Linked DNA regions of Homo sapiens: region 2 is linked to region 1. Evidence: promoter capture Hi-C in human tissues and cell types (Jung and others, 2019). All regions are on one chromosome and are shown on one strand. The core of a region is centred on a gene start or on the middle of the fragment in contact, and the rest is flanking DNA. Distances in the headings are between cores, read along the strand shown. Region 1 holds the start of CLNK (cytokine dependent hematopoietic cell linker). Region 2 overlaps CLNK (cytokine dependent hematopoietic cell linker).

The links. The method cuts DNA at HindIII sites, captures the fragments that hold promoters and counts their contacts. A contact is called where the count stands out against the background at its distance.
Region 2: a contact is called between a fragment that was not itself captured here and the fragment with the promoter of CLNK in region 1, in 1 of the 25 tissues and cell types used here (pancreas).

The regions. Positions count from the first base shown.
Region 1 is chr4:10,683,291-10,686,199 of GRCh38, forward strand. CLNK (cytokine dependent hematopoietic cell linker) reads right to left here and starts at 1,478. Exons shown (of 19, transcript NM_052964.4): 1 at 1,378-1,478. The HindIII fragment of the contact is 5,072 bases long and covers 1-2,629 here.
Region 2 is chr4:10,632,804-10,635,785 of GRCh38, forward strand. The region is part of intron 2 of CLNK (cytokine dependent hematopoietic cell linker); the gene reads right to left. Among named protein-coding and RNA genes, the nearest start is that of CLNK, 50 kb to the right of the region's middle. The HindIII fragment of the contact is 3,222 bases long and covers 1-2,982 here.

The DNA of each region.
Region 1 (2,909 bases), core at 228-2,727:
GGCCAGAGCTGGCCAGATGGTACAGAAGATTATAAGCACTGGCTTTCAAATGGTCTTGCCTATACAGTCATCTGAGAGGGCTTGTTGGGAATAACAAAGAAATACTACCATTTAGATGGTTGGTGTCAGAGACCACCCAGGAGTGAGTTTAGGGATGAGCTCTGTGAAACTGCAAACTAACACTGTTCACCATTCCAATCAGTCAGCCAGGAAAATCAGTTTCCTTCTGAATTCTGTTACTGACATTAGTGACTGAACAACCTTGCACATATTACTTAGAGAACTCAAGTTCTTCACCTGTAAACCAGGGAAAGTAATAGCCAGCTCTCTAGGTCAGCAGGAGCTGAAGGTAAGTAAATGCCAGTTGCCATTCCTACTTCTCTAGGGCATACTGTATCTTAAGCTTCTTAGAGGATTTCTGAAGCGCTGTCATTTCTCTGGTAGGCCTTCAATTAACCAGCTCTACCATCGTCTTCTTGATATTTGAAATGATTATTCCTGGTGGTTTGGGAGGCCCCTGGAAATCCAAAGAACAACACTATTGAGGAGCTGCGCCACAGTATAGACAGAGACAGCCAGAGAAATAGCCATGTAGGTAATAGACAAGTAATACTCATAACAGAGAAGCCAAATGAGTAACACTGGTGTAAAGTAATAAAAACAGTATTGATAAAAAGTTCAGGCATATCGACACCTTTTAAAATCAAAGTATCCATATTTTGATGATAGTTATTTTCTTTTCTGTCTCATTCCAGTTTGTTTGCTTTATCCAATAAAAGCCTGGTAGAGATGACTCCCGGCACTTTTCAAGAGTAAGAATTTAACCCCAACTTTAACCTCACTTTTGAGCTCCTTACTCTTGTGAGTGGAAGGATGTCTGCGTGATTCCAAAGTCTAAGTCTCCTCTACACCAAAGCAGAAAGAAAATCGTATTACTTTAGAAAATGTTAAAAATATATTTCCACAGGGCTCCAGGAGTTAACTTATACTTTGAATGACCTACTTTGAATGGAGGCTTTCTTTCTAGAGGGCTTACTTAATGAAGGTCAGCCAGGAAAGCCAGCCATGGGGCCTGGTCTTTAGATTTCAGTTGCAAACAGTCGGGGAGTCCAAGCTCCAGGAAAAGAAGATTGAAAACATTTAGTCTTTTAATTTTCTGTGGGTAGGTATCCTGATTCTTTCTCCCAAAAGAATGAAAGGATCTTTAACAATTGAGTTAAGGGCTTTCTTCTTGCTCCTTTGATGCTATATATAAGGCCCAGACTTCCACTTTAGAAACACATTTTTACTTGCTGCTCAGGTCTTTCCTGATGATCATTTATGACAAGGAGATGACCATGAGATCCTCACTCAGAAGAACTGGCCTAATGAGTTTACCTGAACAGCGTGGAGAGCACCAAGGGATCTAGGCTGAGGTGTCCGTCTCCTGTGAGGAGGGGCGGCAGTGCAGAGACCTTGGGGCACTGGAAATTAGTAAGGCGGTGGGTTGAATTCTTCTCGATGCTAAGCAGTGCCCTTCAGCAGAAAACCTCCTGATAGGTCCGTTTTAGACTTGGTTTCCTGTGAAATGCAGCCACAGACCTGAGAGGTCTGACCTGAGGGCTGGCAGGACTTCCTCTTCTTAGGCTGGAGTGCAATACGTGAAGCTTTCAGAGGCTGAAATCTTCCAATGCAAAGGGTGTTTTTAAAGACACACGGTGTCCTTATGTGGCACTTCATAGTTACCAGAACACAATAAAAGGAACTGCTGGGCAACACTCAAGCATGGAAGGTGGGTTTTGCGAGTCTCACTTTATATGAATAGTGGACATTAACTATCATCTTTTGGCTTAATTTTGCAATGGCTTCCTGAGACCATCCCAGACACATGGACCAGGTGTTAAGGAAAGAACCTGGGAACTAAAGGAGAAATGCCTGCCTCTTATTCTTGCTGTATTAATTATTAGCTATAGGATCTTGGGCACTTTGAAGTTTATTTCTCAAGTAGTTTGAGTGATAATAATATTTGTATTTTAGAAACTTTTTTAAAAAATGAGGGATAATTGAGGATTATATTTCCTTCATTGAGGAAATGATATTTCCTCAATTGTGATGGAAGGATAATATTTATATTTTAGAAGTATTTCAATAAATAAACAAAATATTGTAAATAAAGGCATGCAGTAATGTTTGGGCACATATCAGTTGCTTAATACATTTTCTTTCGGCCTTAATCTTGGTCCATTTAAGCTGATCTTGCCGAGTGCCTGTTTCCTCTTCTGGAGACTTGACATTCTAGTTTTATATAAATTGATGTTGAATTCCATAACAAACTCCAACATTATTTACAATAAATTCAAAGGTAGAAGTTTATATTTTCTTGGGTAAATAACTCTGGTTTTGACTTAACAGACACCCCAAGGAAAACATGAAAATAAGCACTCTTTGAATGCTAATTGTGAGTCAGTTACATTGCTAAGCAACTTGCAAGCATTATCCTCCTTAATCTTACTAATAACCATGTAAGGAACATATGTAAAATCCCATTTTGTAATTGTGAAAACTGAAGACTAGGGAGACTCGAGTAGTTTAACCACTTTATTAATTAGCTTTTGCTGCATTAGGGGCTTAAAGCAGTAACCACTTTATTTAGTTCATAATTGTGTGTGTCACTTGCTCACTTCTTTTGGTCTGGACCCATATTAATTTTCTGGGGTTTTCATAACAAAGGACTGAGCCCTGAGTGGCTAACAAAACAGAAGGTCAAATTGTATTGTCTCACAGTCTGGCCTCTGGAAGTCTGAGATCAAGGAGTCGGCAAGGTTGGATCCTCCTGAGAGCCATGAGGAGAAGATCTGTTCCAGGCCTTTATCCCCGGCTTGTGGGTGTCTTTGTATCCTTGTTTTTGTGTTTACATGGCATTCTCCCTG
Region 2 (2,982 bases), core at 348-2,847, 50 kb before region 1:
CTCACTACTTTTGCATTCGTCATGTATTAGGAACTAAATACTATTTAAAAATACCTCAAAATTGGCCCAAATAAGCAGATGAGGCTGCTAGCTAACTCATAACAGAAGCATTTTATCTTATTTTGAGACAGAGAAAAGATAAGCATTTTATCTTATTTTGACTGAGGCCTGTCAACCAGGCCAGAGTGCAGGGGCGTGATCTCAGCTCACTACAACTTCTGCCTCCTGGGTTCAAGCAATTCTCCTGTCTCAGCCTCCTGAGTATCTGGGATTACAGGCATGTGCTACCACACTAGGCTAATTTTTGTATTTTTAGTAGAGATGGGGTTTGGCCAGTTTGGTCAGGCTGGTCTCGAACTCCTGACCTTAGGTGATCTGCCTGCCTCGGCCTCCCAAAGTGCTGGGATTACGGCATCAGCCACCACACCTGGCCTGGAAAATTTTAAATTTGGAAATTCCTTTCCCTGCTAGAATCAAAGCTAAAAGTTTTTAAGTTTAGAGAATGTGCATTCTCTCAAGTCGACAGCGTTATTCTTTGTGCATGTGTTACCATCTTCATCAGCTTTGTTGCGACTGATGGGCTGCAGCTTTCCCAGAGCATCTGATGCAAGCACAGATTTATTGAACGCTTACTCTGTGCCAGATGATAGGTTAACGCTTCATCTACATTCTCCCATTTAATTCCCATTCCCTATATGGTGAATTTAATTGTGATCATGGTTTGCAGGTGAAGAAAACGAGAGACGCAATTTGACAGAGACCCATGCCTAATCCAGGAACATCTGAGCCTAGAACCAATGCTCGTAGGTGTCTATCTGCAAGGTCTCCAAAGAGCAAGAATTCTGTCATCCTTGTACTTCACTCATTTATAACTGCTCCATACCATTCCAAACAGTACAAATGTAATTTGGCTGTATATACAGAAGCAGACAGAATCTGTCACTCATAATGGTAATAGAATTGGCAATCATACTATTGCCATAATCAGTGCTAGATATTGTTATGCACTTTCACATACAATATTTCATTTGTTCCCTATATCAGCCCTTTGTGGTTGGTTGTACTGGAAAAGGCTAAACAATGTTGGGTGCTCAGTTGCATAATGGTAATAGCTATGCACTGAGTTCCCATTAATACTTAGGCCAACTAGTGAGGTCAGAATGAGAACTCCCATTTTACAGACAAGGAAAATGAGATTCAGCATAGTTAAGCCCCCTGTATAAGATCACACAGGTAGAGCTGGGTGCAGACTGATGGGCTCACCCTGAGCCATTCCCTTTGTCATCATGTTGAAGTCACTCCCCTTGGATAATACTTGCATTTTTAAGGTGCCAGAGCTCAGAGAAGAGAAACAGAGTCCATCAGGGTCATTAGTAAGGCCCATAAGAAGAGAAGGGGCACAGAGTAGAGCCTAGGGGAGGAAGGTTAAATATTTGCCCTGAAAAAGTGGCCTTTTTCCAAAGGAAGTTTTGGATATAAAAGGAGACACCTGGGTGGTCATTTTGGGAGGTGTCCCCCACGTTAGCACCGAGTCAGTGGGCAAGGCTGGAGACCCCACTGTTTCCCAGCTTCCCAGCCAGCTTGCTGTGTGCGCTCGGCTCTTCATAATCTGGGGAATGAGGCTGAAGTTAATTAGTTCTCTTTATTTCATTTGCCTGTCATTTCCCTTGCAACTCAAGCTTCATGCTTTCTACCTCTCCACATTTGATCTAAGGAAGAGCAAAGAACCCAGCAGCCTGGATTCTGCCTACTGGGCTTACACTGTGCACCGAAAGACTGAATTTTTAGCGCTAATTACTCTAAGTACTTTCAGTTGCCCTATTGCTTCTCAGAGGCACCTCTGCATTTCCAGCTTTCCCAGTCTAACTTCGGTGTTTTGAAATACCTGTCACTGCTCAGGCTTCTGAAGCTTTTTTGCTTCCCTCCTATGGAAACCTCCTGGAGAACAATTTGGCTTTTCCCTTCAGGTTCATTCAGATTAGTGAAAGTCATTAGAGGTGAGGAAGGATCTGAGAATATCATTGCTGGAAAAAAAATCTTTGGTAAAATGAGCAGTTGGACTGGGACTGGGACTTCTGGGCAGAAACTGAGGACCAGAGAGAGAAAAGGCCTCTCCCCCTTGCATGGCTCCTTAGTTGAAGAGCAGGTGGGCATCCTGGCCCTCCTGATTCCAGGTGTAGGGCTTTTCCCATTATAACAGCCCTTTGGCTATTTCCCCTTTCAAAAGAGATAACAATCTTATGAAGCATCTTCTAACCTGGTTTCTAGATTGATGACATTTTTACTAACTGGTCAAGTGCTATATTAATTTACTTATTTAAGCATTCAGTATTTTGACAAGAATTTAGTGAGAGAATTTGGATACTACAACAGGTTTATGAAGCTTTCTGCTTTTCCTGAGTTTCCGACATTCCGTATTAGACATATGTTGCTCATTTTGACTGCCCCATTGTGACTGGCAACTTCCTCAACTGGTAGGGCTCTCAGTCACATGTTCTGCCTCTCCTGACAGTGAAGTGTCAGGAGATCCTGCCTGGGTAATCAGATTGCCCCGTTTCCTACGGCAGAGACTGATCGACCCTGTCCACCTCTGACACTAATCTCTTGGCCAGAATTTAGCTGTACAGTACGTGCTCTGGCCAAGAGAGAGGAGGCCTTTTCTCTCCTTGGGATAGTATATTCTCCCAGTGATATATACTTAGATACTCTCCACCATCTGTGCTGGATGTGGAAAGCGACTGTCTGAAAATAAAGCTGATACTGCAGAGTATCAGCAAAAAAATGGAAGAGAGCGACAGAGGGACCTGCTGATGTCCTTTAAATCTTTGCATATTGCTCTGTATGAATCTAGATACATTCTAGACTATCTCAGTTTTCTAAGCCAATAAATTCCTCTCATGAATTAAATGGGTTGGATTGGGTTATTATTCCATCTCAAAGATGAAGACATGAAAGAGCTTATAGGTTAGATACCTTGTCCAA